Regions from separate parts of the Homo sapiens genome. Here regions 1, 3 and 4 are each linked to region 2. Evidence: promoter capture Hi-C in 16 types of primary human blood cells and fetal thymus (Javierre and others, 2016). All regions are on one chromosome and are shown on one strand. The core of a region is centred on a gene start or on the middle of the fragment in contact, and the rest is flanking DNA. Distances in the headings are between cores, read along the strand shown. Region 1 has its middle 15 kb from the start of GINS4. Region 2 holds the start of THAP1 (THAP domain containing 1). Region 3 has its middle 33 kb from the start of ANK1. Region 4 holds the start of GPAT4 (glycerol-3-phosphate acyltransferase 4).

Region 1 (2,700 bases), core at 90-2,589, 1.3 Mb after region 2:
AAGTTAGATAAGTTACTAAGTCAATAAATCCTTTTATTGCTCAGATACTATTTTTTTAAAAACCCACAACATCCTGCTAGCATAAACTTGTTTTCACTTGACAATAACCCTTAACCAAAGATCTTTGGTAGTGCCTAACTCATAAAAACTTTTTTTTTTTTTTTTTTTTTTTTTGCAAAATGGAGGCTTAAAAATGTAAAGAGTAGGCGTTAAGTTCCCATAGGGCTTCCTGGTTGTAGGCAGAATTTCACAGAACTTCGTATCTGCAGCATTTGAGGTACATATATGGGAAGAACTTAGGATATAATTCAGAAGAGCCAAGATCTTTATTTTGGTTCTGTAATTCTGTGCCTACTCATTTTGGAGCAAAATACATGTATTGCTGTACCCCTAACAATCCTAGCACGTAGGTGGTCCACAATCCCCATTTTGACATTCCCAACAATCCACAGCAAATGGGATGTTAATCAGATGTTTGCCGTTCTCTACACATTTCCAAGTTTTGAGTACAGTACTGGAGAGTACCATCATAAAGCCATTTATTCCAGCTCTTGGGGGTGGGGTAGAATAAAATCATTCACACTGACACCCTTGCACATTAAAGCTGGTCACTGTGTAATGGTTACAGTCATCGATGTTTATCCTTCCAGCAAGCACACATGAGGACAGGGATGACTCTGGCCTGTTTCAGTTAGTGTTTGCACTACAGAGTAGTCTCTGGTGATGTTAGACTACAAGCGTGCTTGATTCATTTTATCTAATGAGTGACAAGCACCTTTTTTCATATTGTTCTTGTAACTTTGATTTTACATAGAGAAATTCAGTAGCAAGAACTCAAATGAGTACAAAGTATTGTTTGTGCTTTATTAGGTCCTTAGAGAATTTTGAAAAGTGGAAATTATCTGAAAATAAGCTTTTATCAGAAGACTAAGTTAAAAGAATTAAGGAGAAATAGACTTCTAAGTTTTGCAGTTTCAATCATAGCTGGATTTAATGTTACATAGAGAATAATACAGGACAAAGTATGAGCAGGAGGCTTATTTATTATTTACTTTACCCAACTCAGAGGTTTCGATGCAATTCCTTTCCTTTCCCTGGGAATTCCTAATCTAGAATTAAAGGGCATTGGGATCCTCAAGGGTACTTATCTCCAGGCAAAAGTCCACTCTATTGGAGCTTAAGCCACAGATATCTCCTCCCAGTTTTAGAAGACTTTACCAAGGGAGCACACAAATCACTGCCTATCAAAAGCCAGACAAACGCCGCACCAATCCAGGTGTAGCACCGTAATTCTATTCTGATGTTAATGACCTGATGGGTCAACTTACCTCTCATTCATTTATGCACTTTACAAACATGTGAGAGCTAAGTATCTGTAGCACTGTGTATGAGGATGCATGGAGTGTGAGGTGGATGCAAGGGTAAGTAGGAAACCACCTCTGCCCTCATGGAATGTACAATCTCCTTTGTTTGGAGGGGGAAAGAAGCTGGTGAAGGGGAGAGGAGGTAAGTACATAAATCAGATATGGCACCAGTACTCTGATTTCCTTTGACATTAAAACAAATAACAAAAAACAAAGCATGTTACTCCTGGGAAACTGTAGCTTTAACTTATGCTAGGAGCCAGGGCTAAGTGGAATACAGAAGAAATTTAATTGAGGTGTTATGACCTCTTTTTTGTCTCCTGGCTATATAAGTATTATTTACTATGAGTTTCACTGGATAAGGAGAGACATTGAACATTTTATATAGGAAAATAAGCTTACAAAAGAAAGTTGGACTATGGACTGTAACTTCTAAGTTGTTAATTTTCTACAAATCTACCTTATTTAAAAGAAATGGAGTCTGGGTCGGGTGCGGTGGCTCACGCCTGTAATCCCAGCACTTTGTGAGGCTGAGGCTGTTGGATCACCTGAGTTCAGGAGTTCTAGACCAGCCTGGCCAATATGGCGAAACCCTGTCTCTACTAAAAATTGCACCACTGCACTCCAGCCTGGGTGACAAGAGCGAAACTCCATCTCAAAAACAAAAACAAAAAATGGAATCTGTATTTGGATTGTTTGTAACACAGTGCTTGAGGGGGATGAGTAGCCCATTTGACATACTGTAATTATTACGCATTGCATGCCTGTATCAAAACATCTCATGTACACCGTGAATATAGACACCTATGTACCCAGAAAAAAAAATAATAAAACTACACTGAGTCATCAGGTGATCCAAGATAGTAACAATAACTGTGATGCCTTTTTCCTAATGAAACATGCCAATGTCTTATTTCTTTAAATATGTTTTTTAGGCTGGGTGTGGTGGCTCACACCTGTAATCCCAGCACTTTGGGAGGCTGAGGCAGGCAGATCACCTGAGGTCAGGAGTTTGAGACCAGCCTGGCCCACATGGTGAAACCCTGTCTCTACTAAAAATAAAAAAATTAGCTGGGCATGGTGGCGGGCGCCTGTAATCTCAGCTACTCGGGAGGCTGAGGAAGGAGAATCACTTGAATCCGGGAGGCGGAGTTTGCAGTGAGCCGAGATGGTGCCATTGCACTCCAGCCTGGGCAAAAAGCAAAACTCCATCTCAAAAAAAATATACATTTTTTAATTACCATGGACTATTCCTTGATGTTTTTTTGACCTCTGAACTTTTTATTGGCCTCTTACTCCCCACAGGGTACCCTGCTTCTGCTGGCTTAATGTCTCA
Region 2 (2,700 bases), core at 83-2,582:
GGTGCAAGCACGGCTCACTGCAACCCCCGCCTCCCGGATTCAAGCGATTATCCTGCCTCAGCCTCCAGAGTAGCTGAAATTCGAGGGCATGTGCCACCACACCCGGTTAATTTTTGTATTTTTAGTAGAGACGTTTTCACCATGTTGACCAGGCTAGTCTTGAACTCCTGACCTCAAGTGATCCGCCCGCCTCGGCCTTCCAAAGTGCTGGGATTACAGGCGTGAGGCACTGTGCCCAGCCCAATATTATTATCTTTAAAGCAAAATTAGGAATGCTTCTGTTCTCAAAATATCGGGATATCTGGACACTTGGTAGTCTGGGTCTGTGTAGTAAACATTATCAATCTGTTGCCTTAATGGTATACACATCTAGAGGCTAGGAATACCTAACTTCCCGGGAATGCAGCCCAGCAAGTCCCAGCCTCATTTTCCTAGCCCTCACTCAACACAGAGTCGCTCTAGTTCGAACCCCTCTAACATATTCTCTCTCAGGTGTGAAAATTGCTGCAGCAGTTCGCTATTTGCAACACAGCACATGGAAATCACAGCAATGGAGAGCCTTCAGAAAAGCTTCTGGGGAGGGACAGCCTGGTGGCTCAACTCCTGTAATCCCAACCCATGGGGAGGTCGAGATGGGAGGATCCCTTGAGCTCGAGTTCCAGACTGACCTGGGCAACGTGGGGAGACAACGCCTCTATTTATTTAAAAAATTACATATATATATATATATATACATACACACACACATATATACATACACACATATATACATACATATACATACATATATATAAAACGCTTCTGCGTTGGCAATTGAGATGATTTGGCGAGTGTGTCTTTTTTCATTGCTAAAAATCTGTCACGTTGGCTCTCACAGAAACTTGTGATACCTGAAGACACAGGTAATGGGATAAAGATTAGCACTCTGGGAAAAGGTTCCACAATTTTATTAATCATACACCATCTGTGTCCGCCCTTTTAAAGAAATGGGCGCAATCAGCCAACGACCTCGGCTTTACACCTGTTCTCCAAGAGGCCCTAGTTGTTCCCTACTGTAAGCTGCCCCAGAAAAGGTCCGCATCAATTAACCCACGGGAACAGCCCGGGGCTGGAGGATGCCCCAGGAATCCGGCCTCCCGCCGCGCCTCCTCCCCCCACAAGCAGTTCCTTCCTGCCTGCCGGAAGCTCAGGGCTCCGCCCACTTCGGCAACTCTGAAGCCACCGCCGGAAACACCTGGCCTCAGCCAATAGTTAGCTTCCCAGGAAACGTTACCTCTGACCTCGGGGCTAATCAGAGACAGTGGGACGCACCCCTCGCGAGAGGTGAGGTTGAAGCTGCCTCCGCCATCTTGGAGATGGGAGACGGGCGATGGCTGTGGTCCTTCTGCTAATGCAAACAACAAAACGGGCACACTAGTCACCCCCGAGGGAGGCCACCATCACTGTAACTGTTGGCCAAAGCTACAAAAGAAGCGAGGGAATCCAACCGAGCGCAGCGACACTGAGAACAGCTTCCCCTGCCTTCTGCGGCGGCAGAAGTGAAGTGCCTGAGGACCGGAAGGATGGTGCAGTCCTGCTCCGCCTACGGCTGCAAGAACCGCTACGACAAGGACAAGCCCGTTTCTTTCCACAAGTGAGGACCCTGCGCGCCTCGCGGGGCCGGTCTCAGCCGGGGTGGGGGCGCGCGGCCGGCGGGGCCGGGGGCGGAGCCAGGCGCGTGTCCGCGCGAGGGGCGGGTGGGGTCTGGGGCCGGCCGTGTCGGGCGTTTCCCACCGCGTCCCGCTGGGAACCGCCGCCCGATCGCGCGTTCTCGGCGCGCGTCGCCGCGGCAGCCGTTTCTCGCGCTCCTGGAACAGGCCCTGGTTGCAGGCTTCGCTCACGGCCTGGGTTGACGCGTTCGGAGCCCACGGGCGATGCCTAGGGTGGCGCGGGTTTTGCCACCACCAGGGTCACAGAGCAGCCAGGTGTTTTAATATGGTCTTAGGGGTAAATTTAAAATAGAAACAAAGGCCTTTAAACGAAGAAATCACTACTTTTCGCCCTTGCCGTGGATGGGAGGCCAGCATCGTAGCAATTAAGGGTTTTTTGGCTGGGAAATCAGGGAGAATTTTTGCCCCCAATCTCTAGGAACTAAGCTTTAAGGACCCTGTATTTTGGAGAAAGCTTCAGGTACTGCCGAGATAAATCGTTATCTTTTCAGCACACAATAATGATAATATGGACAGTTACAACATGGATCATAATAAAATGACTCACACGGATCTTTATTTATTATGGCATTACCTGTGCATAGAGAAAGCTCTTTCGAAAGAAACTGCCCCACAGCTTTCAGAGCTGTCTTATCCAGTAGGTAGCACAGTTAAGTGATAGGATCAAAAATATTCTCTTGAAAATAGGAAAAAAGTGCAGAGTTGTAATTACTTATGATAAACGCTTGTAAAATGTGACATAACATTTTCATTCAGCTGAATTTGTTTACAAATTTTAATTACATTTATGTTAAGTTTTCTTTGCAAGAATTCCTGACAGCTATACGCAGATGATAGGTAAGAAATCAGATCCAGGGGTAAACTATACAGATTAGCCATAGGTAATTAGCTAATTATCTTTTATAATTAGGTAAATAATTACAAAAGCAAAATGTTAAATATCTTTTCAGTTAATTTATTTTTTTGCTGTGGGGCCATCTGTGTTTACTAG
Region 3 (2,992 bases), core at 485-2,984, 1.0 Mb after region 2:
GACTTTTGCTCTGCACTGGAGTGCAATGGCGCAATCTTGGCTCACTTGTAACCTCCAATTCCTGGGTTCAAGCAATCCTTCTGCCTCAGTTTCCCGAGTAGCTGGAACTACAGGCATGTGCCTCCACACCCCACCAATTTTTGTAGTTTTAGTAGAGATGGGGTTTCACCATGTTTTCCAGGCTGGTCTTGAACTTTTGACTTCAAGTGATCCGCCCACCTTGGCCTCCCAAAGTGCTGGGATTACATGCATGAGCCACCATGCCCGGCAAACATGGGTTTTCATTTATCAGGTAAATACCCAGGAGTGGGATTGCTGGGTCATGTGCAAAGTATGTTACTGTTAGAAGAAGAAACTCTTGGGGCTTGAGGTATGAGCGCCCGCAGCTGCCCACACTTTTCAGATGATAGCCCCAGATTGCTGAGGGGCTTTCGGTTTTACAGATGGGGAAATGGAGGCCTTGAGAGGTCAGATGACGAGTCCATAGTTTTAAGGAAGGTCGTCGTCAAGGTCCAGGCGGAGCCTCGTCTCCTGTCTCCCAGGCCGCTGTGCTTTCGTCTGTATCTCAGTTCCCTTCATCATCTGTTGCTGCAAGCTTATTCTCATGGGATCCGTTTATGGGACACATTGGGCCACCAACAATTAGCCTCTCCATGCACTGATAAGGAATGTGACCAAAAAGATTAATCCATTTGGTGAGGTGACCAAGTGATTATGTAAACAGCCGTGTTGATGAACAGAATCTATCTTCAAAGGTTATGACAGTATTATACACACAGCCCTCACGCTGGGCATTTGGCTTGATGGAGCTGTCTGCAAAATTATTCTTCAATGATTCATCTACCAAATTATTCTTCTCAGACCTTTTCAAGCAGAACCGACACAGAACTGGTGTCTGCGTTTCTTTGGCACTGGGTAGGTAGGAGCTGTTTGCTTTTCTTACTCGCTTCTGACTCCCTTTGCCTTGGGATTTGGGTCCTATCCCCGAAAGCCCTAGTCCCAGACAACCTTTTCTTTACCTGCTTCAAGCTTAGAATCAAGAGAGCAGTTCCTGACACTCCCTGGGAATCTTGGCTTTACCACAATTCTAGCTTTTGAACATTTCAATGGAGGATTAATTGTTATTCATGCTGTCATTGTTATGTAGGTCATTTTTTCTTTGGATCAAGTTGACGGGATTTTATCATCTGTGGAAAGCAGCCATATACCAGAATGAAGAATACTTTTGATTGATGATTTAGCTTAAAAATAGTTTCCTCTTTTAATAAGCCTCATTCGGGAACAAATGACCCCAGAGGGAAACTGGGTGCTTATCTAGTAGCCTATGTATTTTGCAGAGAATTTCTAGAAATGTGTGTATTTTGAAGAAAAGAAGAGGGGCTTTGGCTGTTTGGTCCTGGAGATGGGTCTAGGAGCCTGGGGTGGGGGCATCTATTGGTCTCTCCTAGCTGACCCCTGCCCAGAGAACTGCAGTGCCCCTTGCCCAAATAAAAGGTATGCCCGAGTGGCTGAGTGGGTGTTTCTAGTTGGATTACTGCAGGCTCAACATTAGATTCACCAAATCATTATTTAGTACTTGCTCTGTGCTGGGCAAAATTTCATTGATGTTATCGGAGGAATATCTAGGCAAAGAGAGGAGACCTCACTTATAAAAACTAAAGGCCTTGTCACGTCAGATTTTTTTTTTTTTTTTTTTTTTTGAGACAGAGTCTCGCTCTGTCGCCCAGGCTGGAGTGCAGTGGGGCGATCTCGGCTCACTGCAAGTTCAGCCTCCTGGGTTCAAGCCATTCTCCTGCCTCAGCCTCCCAAGTAGCTGGGACTACAGGCGCCCGCCACCACGCCCGGCTAATTTTTTGTATTTTTAGTAGAGACGGGGTTTCACCGTGTTAGCCAGGACGGTCTCGATCTCTTGACCTCGTGATCTGCCTGCCTCGGCCTCCCAAAGTGCTGGGATTACAGGCATGAACCACTGCGCCCGGCCCAGATTTCTTTTTAAAAGGCAGTTAGGGATGGCAGTCTTAGACAATGAGCTCCCCTAGTGCCCTTCCAATGGAGAAGCACAACGAGAATCTAATTTGTAAATACCAGGTCTTACACGGTGAGTGGGACTAGGAGAAGGCATCGACTGCACGCTGGGGTCAGTTGCCTGGGAGCGAATCCAGCTCCACTCCCTGCTGTGGCCTTGAGCAAGTAGCACTTAACCTCTCTGAGCCTCTTTCTGCATCTGAAAAATGGGATTGGTCATAAGGTTGCGATGGGCATGTGCCCCCTGAGAAACATCAGTAAGGTGGCAAGGGTGGCGAAGACGCTGTTCCTCGGGTTTTGTTCCAGCGACGAAAGCTAAGTTCATCAAGCCACAAGAAGAAATCTCAGATTTTTTTTCCCCCTAGGAAATGTGAAAATTGAAGGTTTCCTTTGAAGCCTTGTGGCAGAAGCTTCTGAAAGCCGAGTCACAGATCTTGCACAGTGCTGTCCCAAACGCCGCTGATGTGCAAACGGTGGCCCCCGTCCCCGTAGGGAGGCCAGAATGGGACAGCAGAGATTGCGGCAGGGTGTCCGGTGAGCAGGGGACCCTCACGGACCGGTCTAGACGCGAGACTAGGATTTATTTATTAATTCTTTCAACTGCGGCGGTGGAATCAAGATGGCCTAGAGGGCGCCAGGGGGCGCTCTGGAGAGGACGGGCGGCAGATCCGAATGGGCCCCGAGGAGGGCGGCGCCCCGGGTCACGCGCGACTTCTGCGGAACCCGCCTTTGCCGCGCAGTTTTCGGGATTCGCGGGAAGAAGGCGCAGCCTCCCAGGCCCAACTCTCTCCCCAGCACTTTCGCGTGGAAAATCTTCAGGAAAATGAAATGTAGCTCCCCGTATGCCCTCTCCCCAAAGATGTAAAGGACTCTGGAGCGGGCGCGAGGAGCAGTTCCTGTTTCATTACGAGCGCCCCCTCTCCAGCCCGGTCATTGTAGTGCGAACCAGAACAATCAAATTAACAGA
Region 4 (2,845 bases), core at 129-2,628, 1.3 Mb after region 2:
GCGTGAGTCACCACGCCCGGCCATACTTTTTCTTTTAACCTGTTCTATCATGTTAAGATACCTTTTGCTGTGCTCTTTCTTCAACTCTACTGTGTTTCTTAGCTGAAGACCTCATGAGTAGGCTGTGTTCCAAAACAAAAAGCACCTTATGACTTGGTATGGTGGTTTTCATTATGGAACTGAAGCTACTTTTGACAGACTCATCTTGCATCAAGTTCTCCCTGAGACATACGGGAGGGGAAATGGGTGGGGTGTGTATGGCACAGGAATAGCCACAGTTAAGTGGCTGAGGAGGCCAGAACAAGTACATGCTGGTTCCCTATTCCATCTATTTCCCTGTGTCTGAAATTCTCCAAAATACAAAGTTAAAAAAGAAAAGAAAAGCACATCTCTTTCAAAGAGAGAAGTATATTTGATTGGCATTATTACAGGATTTTGTCTGGAGACTTTGGTATGGTATAACTGCTCTTCACACCATTTCCCTTGGATTGAGATAGAATCTACAAGACATGAAACTAAGGAGAGCTCCTCAAAGTTCAGCCAAAATTAAGGAAAATGAACCAAAAACAAAATTCCTCAAATGACCTCAAGGTTATCCATGAGAAGATCCATGGTAATACTTGGCAGAGGATGGAACTTATTTCCATCGTGCTACACCGTATGTCTCCTATAAGCTATTTTCTGCAACTTCTGAACAGCTAAACTTCAGCCCTCTGTGACATGGAAAGCGAGGAAATAAACAAGCCCCACTGGGAGAAGGATGCCTCAGAGGGTGCTGAAATAAAAAAGGAAAGGCAAGGGATTTCAGGAGTTAAGAAATCCTAAAGAAAAATGGGAGCATGCATTTGGAGAAGGAGAGGGTAAAGACATGCATCTTACGGCAGCCAGAGAACACAGGAAGGGGAATGACAGGGGAAGGCGCTTCCTGGTGCTCCAACGCCCAGCAGCCCTCGCCACCCACATCCCCGGACTCCCGGGGCGGGAGGGCTGCGCACACCTGGGACTTGGGGGAGGCGAGGGGCTCCGAGGAGCCGGGCTCGGAGAGCAGGCGAGCGGAGAGGCGGGCGGCCGGGGTTCGGGGCGGGCGCGGACCGTTCCATCCCGGACGGGGGGCACCCGCTCCACCCGCCGGGGATCCCCGGGGCGCGGCGATGGTGCCTCCTGACGCCGGCGCAGCGTCGCCGGGGCGTCCCAGACCGCAGGCCCCGCGCGGCCGCCCAAGCCCGGCTCCCACGTCCCGCTCTCGGCTCCCCGGAGGTCGGAGACTTTGAGGTAAGGGGCCAGCTCCCTCCTACTCACCGACCGCGAGGCTAGGCAGCTCCAAATCCCGCGGCGACCGCTCCCTCCCGCCCTTGCCGCCGCCGCGGGCCCAAGCTGCGTCAGGACGTGCGCGCGCCCGCCTTTGTCTGCGCCGCCCAACGTGACCCTGCGCCCACCGCCCCGCACGCTCCCGTCGGGCGCGCGCGGGCCGGCAGGGCGGGGGCCTAGGGAGAGGCGGGTGCCGCGTGGACCGGTCGCGGGTTGGGCGACCCGCGGAGTCGCCCTCTGGCGGACTAGGGGGCACTGCCGGGGGCGGGGCGGGGCAGGAGCAGGAGAGGCCGGGCCCTGGCTGTCCCTCCGCTGGCGCGTCCCTCTCAGAAAGCGGAGCGCTTCCCTGCGTTAGGACCCGATACTGGCTCCCTCCCCGGAGGTTCGCTTGTGTGTTCCGGAGAGGGTGAAATCAGGCTGGCACCGCGGGAAGAGGCTAGAGTCACTAAATCACCTTGTCCTCTTGAGGCTGCTGTCCGTATGCAGCGACATTCTGCCCGTTAGAGGACTCAGCTCAGGGCCTGGTACGCTCAAGATCTGTTAGCTACCAGCACCATCACCACGACCACCGTCATCACCAGCAGTATCCCTCAGCCTCGTCTACCTTGCTCGTCAAGCAGGGTGCTCCAGGAGTGGGTGTAGGCCACTTTCGCCCTGCCTGGCAGATGCAACTTTCCAACTTCCACCTCCACTTGGACCTGCTCTCTCTACTCAAGTCTAGCTGGTGGCTGCTGGAGTTTGCGTGTGTGTTTCTTACTATATCTTCTGACTTCGGACGCCTAACCCAAGCTTATTATCTCCCCTAAAATGGGACCTCCTTAAAATATATATTACCTTTCTTTTTCCTGTTCTTAAAAGACAGTTTGCCTTTAGTGCCAAGCCCTCTCCGCCGGTTTACGCTGTACACGGCTGTCAGATTGTCATTCCGTGCTAAATGCATAATCTGATAATGAAATCTTTAAAGTCCACATTCTTAGACCTCAAAATCTCTGTAAGAATAAAGGGCAGAGTATGGTAGTTCACGCCAGTAATCCCAGCGTTTTGGGAGGCCAAAGCAGGAGGATCGCTTGAGGCCAGGAGTTTGAGACTAGCCGGGGCAACGTAACGAGACCCCCACTTCTACAAAAATTTTGAAAATTAAAAAAAAATGGTGGGGGGAGCGGGGCGCGGGTAGCTCACGCCTGTAATCCCAGCACTTTGGGAGGCAGAGGCGGACAGATCACTTAAGGCCAGGAGTTTGAGACCAGCCTGGCCAACATGGTGAAACCCCGTCTCTACTAAAAATACAAAATTTAGCCGGGGGTGATGGCACGCACCTGTAATCCCAGCTACTCGGGAGGCTGAGACAGGAGAATTGCATGAACCCAGGAGGCAGATGTTGCAGTGAACTGAGATTGTGGCACTATACTCCAGCCTGTGTGACAGAGCGAGACCCAAACTCAAAAAAAAAAAAAAAAAAAAGAATAACCACTTAGCTCCAAAACACTGGACTACTTATCTCCACCAAATATAACTAAATGTTACCCATTTGGAACTG

The links. The method cuts DNA at HindIII sites, captures the fragments that hold promoters and counts their contacts. A CHiCAGO score of 5 or more calls a contact.
Region 1: a contact is called between a fragment that was not itself captured here and the fragment with the promoter of THAP1 in region 2, in 1 of 17 cell types (non-activated CD4 T cells). The highest score is 6.5, in non-activated CD4 T cells.
Region 3: a fragment that was not itself captured here is called in contact with the fragment with the promoter of THAP1 in region 2 in 6 of 17 cell types (naive CD8 T cells, activated CD4 T cells, naive CD4 T cells and 3 more); the score reaches 8.5 in naive CD8 T cells.
Region 4: the fragment with the promoter of GPAT4 here is called in contact with the fragment with the promoter of THAP1 in region 2 in 9 of 17 cell types (non-activated CD4 T cells, fetal thymus, total CD8 T cells and 6 more); the score reaches 13.4 in non-activated CD4 T cells.

What each region holds. Positions count from the first base shown.
Region 1 is chr8:41,512,515-41,515,214 of GRCh38, reverse strand. It overlaps the pseudogene KRT18P37. Among named protein-coding and RNA genes, the nearest start is that of GINS4, 15 kb to the left of the region's middle. The HindIII fragment of the contact is 848 bases long and covers 916-1,763 here.
Region 2 is chr8:42,841,957-42,844,656 of GRCh38, reverse strand. THAP1 (THAP domain containing 1) reads left to right here and starts at 1,332. Exons shown (of 3, transcript NM_018105.3): 1 at 1,332-1,633. The coding sequence starts at 1,563. LOC124901940 (a long non-coding RNA gene) reads right to left here and starts at 1,723. Exons shown (of 2, transcript XR_007060901.1): 1 at 1,274-1,723; 2 at 1-890. RefSeq lists enhancers at 1,254-1,613, 949-1,739 and a silencer at 1,644-1,733. The HindIII fragment of the contact is 1,565 bases long and covers 573-2,137 here.
Region 3 is chr8:41,828,644-41,831,635 of GRCh38, reverse strand. It overlaps a transcript of ANK1 not described here. Among named protein-coding and RNA genes, the nearest start is that of ANK1, 33 kb to the right of the region's middle. RefSeq lists an enhancer at 2,751-2,992. The HindIII fragment of the contact is 1,406 bases long and covers 1,032-2,437 here.
Region 4 is chr8:41,576,733-41,579,577 of GRCh38, reverse strand. It overlaps GPAT4 (glycerol-3-phosphate acyltransferase 4), which reads right to left and starts at 1,378. Exons shown (of 13, transcript NM_178819.4): 1 at 1,300-1,378. GPAT4-AS1 (GPAT4 and GINS4 antisense RNA 1) reads left to right here and starts at 1,210. Exons shown (of 3, transcript NR_125824.1): 1 at 1,210-1,272. RefSeq lists silencers at 872-1,011, 1,032-1,651. The HindIII fragment of the contact is 4,489 bases long and covers 1-2,099 here.